Regions from separate parts of the Homo sapiens genome. Here regions 2 and 3 are each linked to region 1. The links are contacts of gene promoters, found by promoter capture Hi-C in blood cells and fetal thymus (Javierre and others, 2016). All regions are on one chromosome and are shown on one strand. The core of a region is centred on a gene start or on the middle of the fragment in contact, and the rest is flanking DNA. Distances in the headings are between cores, read along the strand shown. Region 1 holds the start of SLC37A2 (solute carrier family 37 member 2). Region 2 has its middle 23 kb from the start of PKNOX2-DT. Region 3 overlaps CCDC15 (coiled-coil domain containing 15).

The links. The method cuts DNA at HindIII sites, captures the fragments that hold promoters and counts their contacts. A CHiCAGO score of 5 or more calls a contact.
Region 2: a fragment that was not itself captured here is called in contact with the fragment with the promoter of SLC37A2 in region 1 in 1 of 17 cell types (M2 macrophages); the score reaches 5.4 in M2 macrophages.
Region 3: a contact is called between a fragment that was not itself captured here and the fragment with the promoter of SLC37A2 in region 1, in 1 of 17 cell types (M2 macrophages). The highest score is 6.0, in M2 macrophages.

Annotation. Positions count from the first base shown.
Region 1 is chr11:125,061,910-125,064,609 of GRCh38, reverse strand. It overlaps SLC37A2 (solute carrier family 37 member 2), which reads right to left and starts at 1,305. Exons shown (of 18, transcript NM_001145290.2): 1 at 1,184-1,305. The coding sequence starts at 1,242. RefSeq lists silencers at 1,017-1,096, 1,307-1,496. The HindIII fragment of the contact is 6,676 bases long and covers 1-2,700 here.
Region 2 is chr11:125,140,083-125,142,782 of GRCh38, reverse strand. No RefSeq gene overlaps it. Among named protein-coding and RNA genes, the nearest start is that of PKNOX2-DT, 23 kb to the left of the region's middle. RefSeq lists an enhancer at 436-992. The HindIII fragment of the contact is 1,142 bases long and covers 680-1,821 here.
Region 3 is chr11:124,990,395-124,993,164 of GRCh38, reverse strand. It overlaps CCDC15 (coiled-coil domain containing 15), which reads right to left. Exons shown (of 16, transcript NM_025004.3): 9 at 1,582-1,704; 10 at 478-585. Among named protein-coding and RNA genes, the nearest start is that of CCDC15, 38 kb to the right of the region's middle. The HindIII fragment of the contact is 1,232 bases long and covers 661-1,892 here.

The sequences.
Region 1 (2,700 bases), core at 56-2,555:
AGTGAAGAAGGTTAGAATTGATGAGAGCTCTCAACAATTAAAAAGTGTGTAGGGTAGCCAATTGTCTCATTTTGCCCAGGATTGAGAGGGTTGCCGACAAAAGACTGTTTCAAAACCAGGACAAATTGGCCACTTTAATAGCACCTGCCCTATCTAAAGGGGACTCCTCAATCCTATTCATTTAATTTGGAAATTTAGGCCCAGTATTGCTACATCATCCATTTTTCTTTTCTTTCCTTTTTTTACTTCTAGAGACAGGGAGGGGTGTGAGGGGGGAATGGAGGGGTGGTCTCACGATGTTGGCCAGGCTGGTCTCGAACTCCTGGCCTCATGTAATTCTCCCATCTTGGCCTCCCAAAGTGGTGGGATTACAAGCATGAACCACCATGCCCGGTCCACGTCGTCTATTGTTCAAGAGAAGTCTGGAATCTAGCTATTTTTGTTAAATTTTATGATTTGTAAATAATGGCAACTAACACAATATTTTAAAAACTGTGCAGACCAAACGGACTGCTCCAATGGTTGACCGCCTCTAAGGAAGAGTGGCTGAAACCCCTCCACCCCACCTTGCAGCCCAACATGTGGTCCCTGCGGTCAGGAAGAGAACCTCTGTGAAGCCCTTCTCCCACTGCCGAGGGGCTGCCCTGCTCTGCTCTGAGAGCTGTGCCCTTTCCAGGTGCTGAAAGGCCTCGAGACGAGCTCCCAGGACCACTGAGTTCTGGCCTTGGTGTTCGAGGGCTAAAGGAGACCAAGAGGGACACTCACAAACCCCAGTGGCAACCCCTTTCCTCTACCATCCCCTGGCCTCGGTTCCCCAGCCTTCGAGCCCAGGTTCCCCAGCTGCCCAACGACAGAAAGGCGCTCTGAAGGCGCCCCGGATGTGTGTTAGGAGGGGAGGATGGAAACGGGAAACGATGGAGACCCTCCCTGGCAGCCTGTTCTTCCCCAGTGTCACCGAGCCAGCGTCGCGGGGTCTGGGGGAGCGCGGGCGGAGTTGGGCAGGGAGGGTTATCAACCTCCGAGGCGGGCGCCGCTGGAGGAGCTCGGGACCAAGTCCCCCCAGCACCCCTGGCCACGCGGCGACGCCGGGGCCGATCTGGGGTGATCTCCGAGGCCCCCCGCGGCCCCTGCAAGCCCCGAGCCCAGGAGGTCCCGGCACGCCTCCCTCCCCTGCCCCGCTCACCAGCTGTCCCTGGAGAAGGCCCGGAAGAACCAGACTCCCGGAGCCAGGGAGGACCGCATTTTGCCTGACCGGTACCTAAGGCTGAGTCGACGGAGGAGGCTACAGAGCTGGGCGCGTGTCCCGGGCTGGACTGGCTGTCAGCGGGGTTTAAATGCCCCGCCGGCCGGCCCGCCCTGGCCCCGCGGCCTGAGTACGGCAGCGCCCGCCCCCTTGCGCCCGCCCTCGGGGTCGGGTCCAGCGCAAACCCGCCAGTCGTCCCTAGCCCGGCCGCTGGCACCACAGCGCTCCTGTGCTTTGCTTCCCCGCCACTGCCCGACAGCTCTGAGGTGCTGGGGCTCCTCATTCCGCCCTGCACTTTCTGCCTCACCACCCGCTGGGGAACCGAAAGCAGCAATCTCGACGCTGTCCGGTGTGACGTGCCTGCCTGCCCGCACTACCCCGCAGCGCTTCCTGTCCTAAAAAGCCATGGGCTCCGACACGGGCGGGACACGAGACGCTGGAGGGCTGGAAGTCACACTCAGCGGCCCTGCATGACTAATCTCGGTACTCTCACCTTCTGGGAGCGCAGGAGTTTTTTTCGTGGGCGGGGGCGGGGGGGGGACAATATTCGGCCCCAAACACACCACAGGCTCAGGCTGGGGCTTCCTGCCCTGCTCATATTCCACAGGACCCCACTCTTCCCCGGCTTCACAGACACCGGCCCCCACGCGCTCCCGCCATGACAATGTGGCAGTCACTCCTGCTCTCCTTTCTGGAGGCAAGCAGCCACCAGGCAGGGACTTCTGTGGTCCTGAAAGTGACTGCCTCTAGCCTGAAGATTTCAGGGTATGTTTCCACTGATAATTGTGAGATCCTTGTACATGAACCCAAGGGTGAAATACAGAAGGCTGCAAAGGGAAGTATTCCCCTGAGGAATAAAGTTAATAGAACATAAAACAGGAGTGTCGGAGCAAATGGGTTTCAGCCCTAACCCCACCCTGCCCCTAATTCCTAGGAGTGCCCAGGCCCTACGCGCAAGGTCAGAGAAGTGGAGTAACAACTCCACCAAACAGATTAGGACCTAGAATAATGGGCTTGGCTCGTACCAGCCCTAGAATCAAGAAAAAGAGGGTAAGCAGAGTTGTAAAAGCCTCTGTTAATCCCAGGCAGTCAGGGGGCATAGGTCTAGTGGCAGAAATGAAGACGGTAACACGCCAACGACAAAAGGTAAAGGAATAGAGAAAAGAAGAAAGGCATAAGTAGAAGGGAGGCCCAAATAGGGTGCAGAGGCTTGAAACACCAAAGGACCAGTGTCATTAGCGGCAATTCACTAAATCAAACCCCTGATTAGACCACTCACTGTACTTGGGGGTATATTCATTTCACTCTTACAAGTCAGTTAGGTGGCTATTACCCACCTAGGTAAGGTGACTTTATGTCCTGGTTTGCCTGGGACAATCCCAGGAGACACCTGCTGTCCCAGAATCTATGATGGACCCATTCTAGGGTCAATAATCACAGGTACCCCAGGTTAAGGT
Region 2 (2,700 bases), core at 1-2,500, 78 kb before region 1:
ATAAATTATTACAACGTGATTATAAGTATATCAATATATCTACATCTATCTGTCTACCTATCTACCTACCATCTACCTACCTATAAAAGGAGTACAAGGAAGACAGCCCATCTCTGACTAAAGAAGTCAGGGGGAGCCTCAATCTAGAGAGGGTACCACTGGAGCCAGTGCTGAAGGTTATGATGGGAATATCCTAGGAGAGTATCGGGGATCCTGGGAGCTTCCCTGGAAAGTCTGTGACTGATGCCTGAGCTCTTCAACCAGAGTCATCAAATTCAGATATTCACTCTGAAAGGAGCCTCAGAGGCCCTCTCTATCCACAGGTGAGCCGACTGAGCAGTGCCAGGCCTGGGGTGAAGCGGAATTTCAGGAAGCACCCCGTCTCCAGCCACACAGGCGCCAACCCGCCAGCACCACCCTGCAAGCAAGGCCTCACCCTGGTCTCAGGCACAGCTCTCTCCAAGGGTCACACAGCAAAGCCAACAGTGCCATGCAAGGACCCCTGCCGCCTGCACTCCAGTCTTCTGCGTTTTGTGATTATGGAGAGCAAGGGAAAGGGAGAAGGAAAAGAAGGGGAAGAGGAGTCAAGAAATGCACCGCAGTCTCCTGTTCCTACAACAGAAAAGACAGCTCTGAAACTCTATATCCACCCACTTCAAGTTCCCGCCTTCCTCAAGCTTTATGTTCAGAAATGAGGATCTCTTCCCCACAGAGCCCTTCCCTCCCCTCTTTCTACTACGTGCTCTTCCAATTCCACACCTTTTCAACATTTATTTCAGCTGCAGATTGTCTTTCAAAAGCTGGCGGGGCGAGCCCTGCAGAGCCCACCACCGCGGCCAGAGGGTTGTAGTTCTACAGTCAGCCAGCAGGGGGCAGGCCTGCTCCGAGTCTCCGTCCTGCCCCGACCATCCCAGCCCCCCAGCCCAGTCACAACTCCTTAGAGATGCAAATTGAGAGGCAGCCTTCCTAACCCGAGAGGGCTGCTAATTCTCTGACAGTATGCAGATTTCCATCTTGCCTTTGCCTGGGTTTATTTGTTTTACTTTGCAATAAATTTAATACAGACTCCCTGAAGCAGAGAGGCAGATGGACTATAAAGTGCATTTTGAGCAGCCTTAGTTACTAGGTTAGTGTGGGTTTTGATCCCTGCTTAAATTATATCTATGAAATTTGACATGGATTTGGGTCTGGGGTTTGCTGGCTCCTTGGTGCTCTGGAGCGGCTTTTAGAGCATTTACAAGGGTTGATTTGATTATTGGGGCTTTAATTTTTCACAGAGGCTAACGAGGAGGCTGGGAAGCCCGGCCGGGGCCTGGCAGGAAGATGGAAAAGCTGGGATAAGTTGGGTTTCTACCTGCCCCAGTGTTCACGGTATCGAAATCGTTTTCTCATGTCCCTCGAGGGGCCCTAAGTCACTCTCACCAAAGAGCTGCATGCGGAAACCTGTTCTGATTCCCGGGGTAGTAGTGCAGCAAGGAGCTAGCTCAGATTCTACGAAAAAAGTCAGACGCACATATGGGACAGACATAACTAAAACATCTATAAAGAAACATTAACAAGAATGGTACAGATCAGCATTGTATAACAATGTAAATTGGATGTGAGGGGACTTGGCAGAAGGACAAAAGTCAACACACTCCTGTTAACCCCTTTGCCTTGTGCCAGAGTGTGCGGCCTCCCACTTCCCTACTTCCTTCCAGCAGATCCCTGAAGAAAGGAGGCAGAAGGAACTAGGAATGGGATGAGTTGGGTTCTTGCCCTGGCTCCACCGATTACTTCTTTGTTCAGATATTTGGTGAATATATTTAATTTCTGCAAGCTTCAGTTTCCCTCTGCACAGCTGGAATTTCATTATCATGAGGACCCAGTAAGAGATCTTCAGGAAGAATGTGTGTAGGCTGTAAAGGACCGGACCATAAAAAGTGAGTACATGGACAGATGTCATTCCCCGGTTGTGAAATGGTCATTGATGGATTAGGGTAGCAAGGCTTCAAGGCCAGAGAGGAGCTATTAATGGAATTTCCAAAGCCAGTCCATGAGGCAACATTGGTGGAATGAGTTGGGTTTCACAAACTAGCCAAGGTGTGAGACGGCCAGCTTTCTCACTGGTGGTGAGTTCTGTTCACCTGTGTGCGAAGCCTGCCTGCCAGCAGAGGACACCCTGAGAAGGTTCCAGCAGCAGCAGCAGCAGCAGCAGACGCCGAGGATTGTCCTGCAGAGCCCTGAGGGCTTGGCCACCCTGGCTGTGGGAGACTGGCAGGGGCTGGTGCTGCAGATTCATCTTCTCCCGCGTGAACCCGAGTGCAGGCAGAGCTCGGAGACAGAGGAGGGAGGGGAGGGAGGGCCCCTTGGCAAGAACCCAACTCATCCCATTCCTAGTTCCTTCCGCCTCTTTTCTTCAGGGGTCTGCTGAAAGGAAGTAGGGAAGTGGGAGGCCCGTCCCTCCTGCCTCCCTCCTCTGCATCTTCACATCTCTTAGGCCAGAGACTGGAGCAGGAAAGGGAGTTTGAGGGGGAACTAAGAGGAATGTGTTTGAAGAGCCAAGAAGAGCAAAGATTTGGGAGCCACCAGAGAAAAGGGGTAGAGAGTAGAAAGAGGCAGGTCGGGGAGAAAGGAAGGAACCATCACACATTGATATTTACTCCTGAAACTTTGAAGAGGATTGTGAACTGCTGGGGGAAGGGGAGAGAAATGAGAGAA
Region 3 (2,770 bases), core at 27-2,526, 71 kb after region 1:
AGGAACAACAAAATACAAAACTGATTGTCTAAGCAGAAATGACGGGCTAGTGACAGTATTATAGACTTCAGTGACAATCCCAGAGTAATGACACTAGGTGAGGATAATAGAACACAGTTAAAGCTGTGTGTGTGTTCAACATAAAAATTTCCAAACTTGCATCAAAGTAGAAAAAAAAAAAGTATAATGAATCTCAAGATTCAACAATTACCCAGATTCAACAATTAGCAACATTTTGCTTTATTATCTATCTCTTCTCCAATGTTTTTCCTGGAGTATTTTAAAGCAAATTCCAGATTATTCTGGCACATTTTGAAATAACCAAAAACATTATACTCTTAGCTTAATTCTGGAGGCCTTAATTCTATGTATTCCACAAACAAGCTAGCTTGACAGGCTTCAGCCTCAATGTTAATATGATTTAGGCTTGTTCCCCTTTTAGAAGGTATACAGTCCTCCTACTGTATTCGGTTCTACCTGTTCTCTAGGGGAGTCTTGGTCCTGGATTTTAGGTACAACATATTGATGATAGTCCAGAGGCAATTCTTCTCTCACTCTTTCTTCTCTCATAAAAGATGCAGGTTGCTTGAGAAACATATTTTAAAGGAAAAACAACAACAGAAAAAAAATTGTGTAATGCTAATCATAATATCATAAGCTTCAGTGAAAACTCCAGAGAAATGAAACCAGGTAAAAATATTCTGATACGTTTTGATATGAGGGAGATGTTACACTTTTAGCTCAACTATGTAGACCTTAATTCTTAATCCCATCATTGACAGAATAGTCTGACAAACTCATCAAATCCTAAGTATCTTCTAGTTCCTACATTGTACATGTAGGGGCATTATGCTTGCAGCAATACTGTTGGCTTTGGTAAGAGTTGAAGAATAATCTTGTTAAATTAAAATAGTCAACTGATTCTGGAATAAGATATGAACGTGATACATCAGCCTCAGAAATCACTGAACTGATTTTGACTCATATAGTTCCCTAGACCAGGGTCTTTTGTACCACTGAAGTACAAAGTAGAAGAGAAAAAAACAAAAAGGAGAGAGACCAGGAGGAACTGAATTGTTTAGTGTTTAACACTCTATGCTCCTGAAGCAGTTCCTCTGTTCTAATAGGACTTAGGATCATCTTCCCACTAATGTGGGAAGGAATAAAAAATACTGTATTCTGGCCGGGGACAGTGGCTTACGCCTGTAAACCCAGCACTTTGGGAGGAAGAGGCGGGCAGATCACCTGAGGTCAGGAGTTCGAGACCCGCCTGGCCAACATGTTGAAACCCCATCTCTACTAAAAAAACAAAAATTAGCCAGGCGTGCTGGCATGCGCCTGTAATCCCAGCTACTCGGGAGGCTGAGGCAGGAGAATCGTTTGAACCCAGGAGGCAGAGGTTGCAATGAGTCGAGATTGTGCCACTGCACTCCAGCCTGGGCGACAGAGAAAGACTCCATCAGAAAAAAGCCACTATATTCTTAGGTTAGCTCCAAAATCCCTCATTCTAAATTACCAGTTGTTGGGATTTATAAAACCTGGGTACTTCCTTCCTGTTTATATCTTTTTCTTCTACTCTACCTGATTTTTGATGTCATCCTGGTCCTGGGATTTGGGAGGCAAACACTGATAGTCTGCCAGAGAAAAGTCTTCTCTCCCTTTCTCATCTGTCATATCAGAGTATGGCTCCTTAAAGTGTACTTTCTAAAAGATAAAATAATAAAAAACTATAAATTGTCTAGCAAGACTAATATGATGGCAATAATATTCTAGGCTTCATTGAAGGCCAAAGGGTAGTTTTTTTCAGGATAATATAAAACATTATGGAATAAAAGAGACACTCATACTTTTTGTCAGTTCTGAAGTTTAGCTGAGAACAACCTTTGAAAGCTTCAAACTACACTCTAAACAATTCAGTTCCTGTTGGTCTCTGTCATTTTTCTTTTCTACCTTGCCTCTGATGGAGGCCTGATGATGCCTGCATAGAAGATCCTGATGGACATCCAGAGGAAGTGCCTCTCTCCCTCTCCTACCTATCAAAATGGATGTTGGCTGCTTCAGACTTGCTTTCTATGAAAGAACAAACACAACATATCAATTGCTCCGTTAAGAATGACAGGTTAAGACTTTAGGTTTTAGTGAGAATTCTGGAGTTAACCAAGATCAGAATATAATTGAGCACCTTATGGAAAAACCAAAAACTACACTCCATTCCACAAAAGTCCAACCACAACCCTAAGTAATCTAATTCCTGTTGGTCTTTCTTCTTCCTTTTAGTCTAACTCATCTCTGGTGGAGGGATGGCCTTGGAACCTGTGTGAAAGATACTGCTGAGTACTTATGGACCACTCCTTTTTCCATCTTTCAGCTGTCTAAGCAGATAATGGCTGCCAGAAATATTTCTCCCAATGAAGAAGATTAAAAATAAAAAATTAAATTGTTCACAAAATCTGGGTAGAGTGTTGATTTAAAAAATTGAATAAAAAGAAAAGAAACAGCAAATTGTTTATTTGGAGTAATATGCTGCTGGTAATACTTTAACATTTAGTAAGAGCACTGGAGTTTTGAGAAATCAATCAAGAAACTATTTTTTCCAAGTATGGATCTCCAAATCAGGTACAATATACAGCATACCTATTTTTATTATGCTTTGCAGATGTTGTGTTTTTTACAAACTGAAGGTTTGTGGCAATCATACGTCAAGCCAATACACTGGTGTCACTTTTCCAACAGCATGTGCTCGTGTAATGTCTCTGTGTCACATTTTGGA